Regions from separate parts of the Homo sapiens genome. Here region 1 is linked to region 2. The links are contacts of gene promoters, found by promoter capture Hi-C in human tissues and cell types (Jung and others, 2019). All regions are on one chromosome and are shown on one strand. The core of a region is centred on a gene start or on the middle of the fragment in contact, and the rest is flanking DNA. Distances in the headings are between cores, read along the strand shown.

Region 1 (4,996 bases), core at 1,719-4,218, 1.1 Mb before region 2:
CAAAGACCAGAGGGCTGTTGAAATAAGCAAATACAGCTTTGATGTGGAATATGTAGTTTTCTACATTCAGTTTACCCTAATTCCTAATGAGTGTCTCATTAAGAGTCTTTCATTTTAGGTCTTAATTGCGTTTCTTACTACATAGTAACATATGTTTATTTTATATTAACAGCTAATCAGTACAAAGTCATTTTTCATCCTCATACCTAAGTGGCAATTCTAATTGATTTAAGGGGTATTTATGAAAGGGGTGTCTCTCATTCTCTTTTTTAAAGCATTACTTACCTATTTTTTAAAATAATAAAAGTACTTTAATATGTACTTCCCCAAAGTCATGATACGAAAGCAGAAATATTTTTCTAATTTTATTTATATTGAAATACACCTATAGTCTTTTTTCTTACAGCCCTTTTTAATGCATGTCTGAAATACACCTATAATCTTTTGCTCAATAAATTAGTATGGCTTTCTGTTGAAATGAATTTCAGATTAAAACAGATTAGAGTATGAGTGTTTGGTATATATATGTATTTCTCATGTAAATAACATGACAATTATTTATTGTAATTCCACCAGCAAATTTATACTTAAATTGTTACCCATTTTTTAAACAAACAGTGGTGCATTTAATAATGTTTTGGTAAGTCATATTTTATAAATGGAATTGTGAAATTAAAAGACGTACACTTATGTCTGGATAAGTATTGTCAAATTGCTCTTCTAAAAGATTGTACCAATGTATCTACCTACCAGCAGTGTTAAGAGAAATGAGCACTGCACTCATCAACATTAAGTATTATCAGTCTTTAAAATTTTTGGCTGGTCAGACCAAAAAATGATATTTTATTGTTTTAATTTGTATTTCTTTGGTTATTAATAAAGTGGTATATGGTTAATTAATTTGAATACTCTATTCTCAAGGCTATATAGATAGAAGTTGTCATTTCATTCCAAAGTACTTTAGTCTTATTTTTTAGTGTTTACCAAGTCTTAAAAATGATAAATCCTGAATTGTCCTAGCATTATGTTGTTGTCTGCATTAAGTTGTCAATTATAATTTTCTTAGCAAGATTTTCTAGTTTGGCAGTTATCTTTAATAGCATCTGTTTTTTTTTTACTGTTTTCTTCCAAAGAGCTCTGACAAATATGGTCTTATTTGCCTGTGATAAAGAAGGGGAGTAAGACATTATCATAGGCAATTTTTTAAAAACAAGAAACTGTACTACAGAACAGTTAAAAATTACTTGTAAAAGGTTATATAATCATCTGTGTTAATTCTATAGGCCATTCCTCTTAACTTCTTGATTTTGGCCTCTAATATATGTTAAATTATTATCTAAAATGAGAATTAATAATCCCAATGAATGTAGGTTTTTTTAAATAAGATTAAAATCATGGTATGCTCCTGTAATATCAGCTGCTCAGGAGGCTAATGCAGGAGGATCTCTTAATCCCAGGAGTTTAAAACCTGGTGGCTCACACTTGTAATCCTAGCACTTTGGGAGGCCGAGGCAGGTGGATCACGAGGTCAAGAGATCGAGACCATCCTGGCCAGCATGGTGTGAAACCCAGTCTTTACTAAAAATACAAAAATTAGCTGGGCGTGGTGGTACACACCTGTAGTCCCAGCTACTCAGGAGGCTGAAGCAGGAGAATCGCTTGAACCTGGGAGGCAGAGGTTGCAGTGAGCCAAGATCATGCCACTGCACTCCAGCCTGGCAACAGAGTGAAAGTCTGTATCCAAAAAAAAAAAAAAAAACAGCCTGGGCAACATAGTGAGAGCCTATCTCAAAAAATAAAATAAAATAGGGTTGGGCTGTGACCAGCTTCAGAGAAGGCAGTACTCTTTTCCCCAAATCTACCAGTATCTACTATATTTGTTGTAATTACATGGCGAAGGTTCTGGAAGCTGGTCTTTGTAGCCTACACACCTGGTGTAGGATTCCCTCGCAGCCCAGTCAAGCCTGGGCTCTACTGACTCCTTGTGGCAAGGCTCATAGTCCTTCCACCACCCCAGAAACTTCATGAGAATTCACATGGAAGCCGAGTCATTCTGGCCCCATGTTGTTGGAACTGTACATGCTTTAGGTCTGTCTTGAAACCTGGGCCTCCACAGAAAATTTGTTTCCTCTGCAGCCCTATCAAATGCTTGCTGCTCATCTTCCGTGACCCTGAATCTTAAGAGATGATATCAGCCTCTTTCTCACATGCCATGGCTGCTTTTAAGTCATTACTCAACCCTTTTTATGTAAATACCTTTGGCTTATTTAAGGCTTATACCCTCTAGCAATACTATCCTCTACCATTCTTTGTCATTTTCATCTTCCCACCTACTGGACTTTCTGCTCATTCACAGAGGATTTCTAACCTTTTATAAATTGACGATATTGAGAAACTTCCAAGGCTGGGCGTGGTGGCTCATGCCTGTTACCCAGCACTTTGGGAGGCCGAGGTAGGCAGATCACTTGAGGCCACAAGTTTGAGGCCAGCCTGGCCAACACAGCAAAACCCCATCCCTACTAAAAGTACAAAAGTTAGCTGAGTGTGGTGGTGCACACCTGTAATTCCAACTACTGGGAAGGCTGAGGCATGAGAATTGCTAGAACCCAGGACGCAGAGGTTTCAGTGAGCCGAGATTGCACCACTGAACTCCAGCCTGGGCAACAGAGTGAGACTGTTTCCAAAAAAAAAAAAAAAAATGAAAGAAACTTGCCCTTTTACTTTATATATTCCCATAGTCACACACCTAGACCTCTGTTTGGCCAGATTACCAGATATATGTATGCAAAGAGAATTTGTAGTGAAAACTGTCGAGTCATATTCAAATCCTTTCTGTAATGAAAAGCTTTTTCCTAAAATCTGTTGGAAATTGCTCATTGGTTAACTACTTCTGTAAAAGTATTTGGTTGAAATTCCAGAGTTTTATGAGGTGAAGGATAAAAAGATGGCTCAAGGCCTACTAAAGTCAACCTGCATCATTAGTCCCTTTCAGAAGACAAGAACCTGGATTATGGAAAGAATCCTGTTTCTGAATCTGCTATAGTTTCTCTCCTCACTTGCCAACAATTTTTAAATATACAGAGAATTTTTAAATGTCTGTATACCTTTAGCTTGCACACAGAAACCTATTCTGTGAGCTATCTCTGACATTTCCAAGATAACAACAGCCATACATAATTGTGTGTTTACTGTGCTGGAGGAGTGCTTCATTCACCACTATGCCCTTAGCATATAGTAGGTGTTCAGTAGATTTAATCCTCATAAGCAGGATATGAAGTGTAGGTACTATTTATTACTCCTATTTTACAAACTGAAAACTGAGACATTACAAGGTTAATAAGTCTAAGGTCTAAAAGCTAAAATGATGCTATACTTTATGACTATGTGGAGAAAGCTTACATATTGGCAATCAAGGAATCATCAGTTTATCTCCTACTCGGAGGATCTCTCAACTTTCTTTCTTAAATATGCAGATATTATAGCTCTAATAAGCAACTTTAATATAACACTCATGACATTGGGGCAACATAGTGAGACTCCCACTCTTTACCAAAAAAAAAATTTAAAAATTAGCCAGGCAGGGTGGCACGCACCTGTAGTCCCAGCTACTCGGGAGGCTGAGATGGGAGGATTGCTTGAGCCCAGGAGATCAAGGCTGCAGTGAGCTGTGATCACATCACTGCACTCCAGCCTGGGTGACAGTGTAAGACTCTCTCTTTTTAAAAAAAAAAAAAAAAAAAAATCAATATATTATAAAACACATAAAGAAAAATATTTTCCAAACAAAAATAAATTTTACCTTAGGTTGTCAGCACTTTAAAAAACCCCTGGGGATCAAGAAAGCAGTATAGAATGTTGATTTTCAGATACAGAGCCAATTCTGTGATACCATAGAGCTTTACTGCTCACAAGAGACCATTGCAGCTTCAGCAATCTTTATTAATTGTTCAGATTGCCATCCTTTTTTATTAAAGCATAATGACTGAGTTAGTCAGTGTCAGATATAATCAAAACCCAAACCTCCTAAATTTCCTACCTTTATTCAGCAATTTTTTTCTCAAATTCCCTGCTCAGTGTGTTATCCCAGTCCATGCTAAATAACTGTTAAAGTCTGATTTTTTAATACAGTGGGAGAAAATAATTCATAGAACATATTTCACTTGATTCCTTTATTTATTTATTTTTATTTTTATCTTTGAAACAGAGTCTCACTCTGCCGCCCAGGGTGCAGAGGTGTGATCTCGGCTCACTGCAACCTCTGCCTCCCAGATTCGAGCAATTCTGCCTCAGCCTCCCAAGTAGCTGGGATTACAGGCATGAGCCACAACACCTGGCCAATTTTTGTATTTTTAGTAGAGGTGTGGTTTCACTATGTTGGCCAGGCTGATGTCGAACTCCTGACCTCAGGTGATCTGCCCGCCTTGGCCTCCCAAAGCGCTGGGGTTAACAGGCGTGAGCTACTGCGCCCGGCCTTTTTACTTTTTTGATGCTAGAAAAATGCTCCCATATCAGCCATATACTACAATATTTTTCACAGTGCAAAAGTTTATTTTAAGGAGAACTCAGTTTAAACTGTGTAGTATTTAACATACACGTGAGTGCTCAATGATGTTTCTTCAATAAATATATATGTAAAATTGAAAACTAATGTCTTTTATTTAGATTTTTATTAAACTTGGAGATTTCCAGCAGGAAATACAAAGCATCTAGTACAAATCATTTCATACTTGTCAAATCCAGAATGGAGAGTTACTAGAGCATTATTTTTGTAAAGGTAATTATTTAAGAAACAGGTATTTATTTTATTTTTAGTGTACTCCAAGGAGCACTGAGTAGTATTCATATGATTTCCTCCCCTTATCCTTTCCACAGTCTTACTCAGATATGACTGGCCAGAAATAAGAATGGCTGAAACATATTATTGTGCTGAATAACTAAGCCAAGATTTGAATTTAAAGACTTGCTTAATTCACATATTTTGTGTAATGGCGGTTCT
Region 2 (5,205 bases), core at 1,694-4,193:
AATAAATACTTCCCGAGGCCTCATTCCATGAAATCTAGGTGCTTGGGTACCCAAGGAGTCAGGAGGGGTGATTTTATCATGAATATTGAAGCAGAACAGCCCTGCTCTGACTCACAGTCTGTTTTCCTTCAACCGGGATCCCCAGAGGCATTGTTAAAAAACGCTCCCGCTGTGTCTTGTGAATAAAAGATGGCTTTAGGGCAGCACAGAATGAGCTGCTGCCTGGGCTAGGAAACATCCCCTGTCCAAACCTTCATGCTTTATCTGGACACAAGGGCAGAGGCCACACTAGCACTTCAGGACAGAGAGTGACAGGCAAACAGTGCCCGGTTCTGTGGTGGATGACACAAAGGCTGGTGCGGAAGAAGGGCTGAACCCCGGGGAGGCCTGACGCCTGTCAGTAATGAGATCATGAAAACCAGTTCTGAGTTGCTTCCATGTGGCCCCACGAATATCTTTATTCCCTGGGTCTGTGCCTGGGGTGGGCCTCAGATCCCATAGATCAGAGTGAAGGGGCTGTCACATTTACTTGTCATTTGGTAATTTTCAGTGAATTAGGGGTATGGAGTTTCCATCTGCCATCTGGCCTCACTCTGGTAACCATGGTAACCACCATCTGCCTGACTTAATACTATTAAGTCCTGTGCCAAAAGAGCACTGGACAGGGTGTTGGGACCAGGGAGCTGGTCATCCTTTACTGGTCACCCTGGACAAGGGCTCTGACCTTGCTGTGTCTCAGTCTCTTTCTCTGTATAACAGCAGATTTGGTCTGAATGTCTTTAAGGTGCCTTTCTCTTAGGAAGAGAATGCCACTCTGGGGAGAAATTATCTGAGATCATCAGCAGCATTTATAGTCTGAGGACCTGGTCAGCATTTCTTCTGTCTCCTGCATGTGGAGTTAAAAGTGTTACCTGTCTGGAGACAAAGAGAATTGCCTGTGAATTAACGGCTGAGGAAAGCAGTTATAAAAACGAGTGATAGGAACTAGCAAAAGGAAAGAGACAGGACTGTTTAAGTGCCACAGGGCGGAAACCAACTGTTCCGAGTGAAAGGGACCTCAACAATGACTCCACTGGGGCTGATATGGCCAGAGAGGGGAAGGGACCCGTCCAGGGCCACTCAGGGAGCCAGCGGCAGCACAGATGCACCCCCAGCCAGCTCTGTCCTCCATGGGGAGCTTCAGCTAGGAACAGCCAATGGTGACTTTCCTGTGCTCAACTGGCCACACACTGGTTTTACATTTCCCAGGACTGGAGGCTTCCTGCCCCATCTCCAACAACCCATTGCGTCTCCTGGACTTGGGTACATCTACCTGAACTACTTGAGAGGAAAGACTACTAGATACTTCTTAAGGCTTGGAAAGGTCTCACCCCACCCCAGGCTTCTTTCTTGAAGCTAAGTCATTACACTGACTTAGGCACTAAAGTCTGGACTTGGTCTCTGGGCTCAGGCCAGAATTATTTCCCAGAAGCCTGAACTCCAGGCCGAAACCCAGGCTCCTTGGGACTCACTGGCCACCTTCTCACTCACCCTAAACTCAGCACTGCCCACTCCAGGCAAAGTACACAGCGGCACTTCAAAACCTAGTGGGTGGAATACACTCATGCTTAGGAAGCCGGTAAAGCAGTGCTAACGTTTTGGTTTCTTTTTGTTTGGTTTTCAAAAGGTACATAAAGAGGGTGGGCAACTATAGCACTCAGAGATTATTTTACTGTGATGTTAATGAAGCTTAAGTTTCTAAGTCCCTAGCATTTCATAATAAGTTTCTAAGTCCCTAGCAGTTCTATTCCTTTACTTAAGGCAGGACTCTCCAAATTATATATGTTTTAGAAGCACGAAACCTGAGTCTGCCCCTAATAGCACCACAATCTTTTCAGACCTTACGTCTCCAAAGGTCTTACTTCTCCTGGATGGAGCTCCCTCAGCATCCCAGCTCAGCCCCTTCCCACACCGGGGGCCCTGGTGCTCTGGTGCTGTGGCCTGGTGACTACTGATTCCCCAGTCTGGAACTCATCCTCCTCCTGCATCCTCAACTTCCCTTCCTCCCCTATCCTCTACTTCCCTTCCTCCCCCAACCTCAACTTCCCTTCCTCCCCATTCAAACAATCCACCTAGCGCTGGATACCTGGGAACTCGGATCCCCCTCCTTAACTCCCAGTCTCCTGCTGGGCAAACATACCATGCCTACAAATAAGTGACTGCATCAGCAGGTACTTAAGTACCAAAAGGGGTAGCAGGCTCACCAAAAATTCGACTAGCACAGTGAGTGGCGTCTCCAAGGATTCTCGCCCCAGTCTCTCTGAGCACGAGGAGAGATATGAAATACTGCTCCCTAAGGGGAAACTGAGTGCCAGGCAGCGCCGTCCACCACTGGGCAGGGGGATCCTTCGCTCCACACCCCAGAGGGTTGGAATCCCTCCTTCTCTACCCACCCAATCCCCGACCCTGACTCACCGAACTCGCAAGGGCCGTCGCGCGCCTTGTGCAGGTGACCGGGGTGCGCGCGGGGCGTGTGCCGAGCGCGCAGGCGCAGCGCGCAGACGCTGGGGTACGAGCGACCGTCGGAGCCGCAGACGGTGCCGCGCTGCGCGCACACGCAGAGCCCGGTGCCCTCGGGCGCTGCCCCAGCGGCCTGGCTCGCGCATACCAGGCCGGGGCCACAGCGCCCGCCGGCGCGGCCCCCGCAGCTCGCGCCCTCGGCTCCCAGGCAGCGGGCGCAGCAGCCGCACTCGTCGAGCGCCGAGATCCCGGGCGCCGGGCAGGGCGCAGGCGCCGGGCAGCCCTCTGGCCGGCACGGACCACACTTGGGGCGCCGGCCGCCCACGTCGCGGATCCCAAGGCTCGGGGACAGCGGCGGCAGCAGCGGCAGCAGCAGCAGAAGCAGCAGCGGCAAGAGCAGAGACAAGCGCGGCATGGCTTGCTCCGGGACAGCGGCGGCGCCTCTGCTTCGCGCTCCGCTCCGCGCCCGCCGAGCAGTCACCGCTCCCGCCCCGCGGCCGCTGATTGGCCGGGCCTGCACCGCGGGGCGCCCGCAGACCGCTGCTCCAGCCCGGGACCCGCGCGGTGCCCGCGGCCCGGGTCTCCGAGCTGGAGGGTCGCCCCGAGAGCAGCTCTCCGACCTCCGATTGGACTCTTGAGGGAACCGAGACCCAGTCGGGGCGACAACTTGCCCGAGGTCGCTATGGCAGAGTCAGGATTGGATAACCGTACGGTCTCCGGATCCAAGGCTGGCTCCAGATAGTATGCCCGTAAATCCTCCCAGAAGGATGCGCTATTTTATTTAATTTTATTTTGCATTCAGTAGTTTTCAAAGTTTTATTTTATAAAGAGAATATATGGTTTAAAATGTAGATTTTACATATACATCTAAGGATGAAAAGAGGGTTACCCTACCACCTTGTATCCCCATCCTCCAACTCGGCTTCCAGAGGCCACTCTTGCTATCGGGTTTTTGTATATCTTTTCAGAAATTTTCTCTATGCCTATAAAAGTACATGTGCCTAAAAAAGCCCCTTCCTTTAAAACACACACACTCTGTTTCTCTCTCACACACACAGAGTAGCGTGCCATACACATTAGTCTGCACTTGGTTTTTGCACTTACAGTGTTTCACAGTTTCCCCACCTCTTGTCATCTGTGAAACTGGGTTTCTTATACAATCAATGGGAGCATAGTTCATTGGCTCTGTGAGTGTGTTTCTTAATGCTGCATAAAGTCATGGTACATCTCCGTCCACAGTGACTTTGTTGTGATGAGATATGGTGATATATTTTGGAGTTCATACAGAGTGGCCTTTCCACAGGGTTTAGTTGCAGTTATTTAACCACTTATTTTCCATCCTTTGGTTAATACGAATAATGCTTTGATGAAGTCTTGGTGCACAAGGGTCAGTGTACCTGTGGCTTACTGGGGAATGCATGTTGGAAAGATGCAGTTTCTTGTAGTCAGTTATTCATGCCGCCGTTGCGCCTTCTCTGGGCCAGGCTCTGTGCACACCATCCTGCCTGAGTTCTGGCAGGGCACCCAGACGAGAAACCTAAGAGAGTCTTGGCTGCTGGGATTTGATGTGTTGCTGGGTAAATGCACTGGATGGAGGGAGGGACTCGCTGAGCAGGTTTTATAGGAGACTTTTCCTGCCTTTACTGGCCACCCCTCATGTGTCTTGTGCTCTATTGTTTTTTCTTTGCTGAACTCCTGGAGATGGAGAAAGCCTCTTGCAGCCTGGGAAGACCAGCTACACCGTTCTTGGGTGGGGTTCATTTTGCTTTTCAAGCCCAGTTCCTTCCCAGTTTGCAGTCTTCTTATCCCCAGAAAGGAGCCTCTTCTGAGGCCACTTTATGTGGTGGTCAGAGGAGGGCCATCTGCCTGGTCCACGCCAGGCCTTACCTTACAATCAGCCACACAGAGCAGGGGCGGTTAGGCACCATGAAGGGGTGGTGGTAAGGAATAAATATAACAATGTTGGTAATGCACTCAGCGCAGCTCTCAGAACCTATCAACAGTGACTTTCAACCTGGAGGCTGCTGTCTTTACCAGGAGTGGCCTTTTAAAGTGCTCTCACCGCTTGACCCCTCTGTGCTCTTCCAGGAATCTCTCCTAAAAAAATGATCACTATGTGTGAAGATTTCATCCTGGAGTTGGTTACTATAGCAAAAAATAAATAAATAAATAAAATAAAAATAAAAAAAGTTAACGACCTAAATGCCCACCGAGAGGCAATCGTTAAATAAATTATGGTACATCTAACAATAGAGGATTATGCAGGCATTAACAATTAGAAAGAAAATATGGGTTAATAGAAATGAAAACATGTTTATAATACATTGTTTAGTAAAATAGCGGTTAAAAAGTGCACATCTAATGTAATGGCATATTTGTAAATATGTGAATGTGTAAACATGCAAAAATTTAAGATTGTTTTTAATGATGTGAAGGAAACCCTTTTTTTAAAAAAAAAAAAAAAAAGAGATGGTACCTCATTCTGCTGCCCAGGTTGGAGTGCAATGTCATGATCATAGCTCACTGCAGCCTCAAACTCCTGAGCCTCAAGCCGTCCTCCCCCACTCAGCCTCCTGAGTATCTAGGACTATAGGTGAGCACCACCACGCCTGGCTAATTTAAACAATTTTTTTTTTTCAGAGATGGGGTCTCACTATGAGAAGGAAACACTTATAATGTTAAATGAACAAAGCAGGATTTGCAAAC

Evidence for each region. Contacts are between HindIII fragments. The study calls those that stand out against the background at their distance.
Region 1: a contact is called between a fragment that was not itself captured here and the fragment with the promoter of IGFBPL1 in region 2, in 1 of the 25 tissues and cell types used here (dorsolateral prefrontal cortex).

Annotation. Positions count from the first base shown.
Region 1 is chr9:37,307,239-37,312,234 of GRCh38, forward strand. The region is part of intron 5 of ZCCHC7 (zinc finger CCHC-type containing 7); the gene reads left to right. Among named protein-coding and RNA genes, the nearest start is that of LINC01627, 85 kb to the right of the region's middle. The HindIII fragment of the contact is 4,334 bases long and covers 802-4,996 here.
Region 2 is chr9:38,421,511-38,426,715 of GRCh38, forward strand. It overlaps IGFBPL1 (insulin like growth factor binding protein like 1), which reads right to left and starts at 2,944. Exons shown (of 5, transcript NM_001007563.3): 1 at 2,455-2,944. The coding sequence starts at 2,914. LOC105376041 (a long non-coding RNA gene) reads left to right here and starts at 3,101. Exons shown (of 8, transcript XR_007061487.1): 1 at 3,101-3,240; 2 at 5,140-5,205. RefSeq lists an enhancer at 3,989-5,205. The HindIII fragment of the contact is 5,843 bases long and covers 193-5,205 here.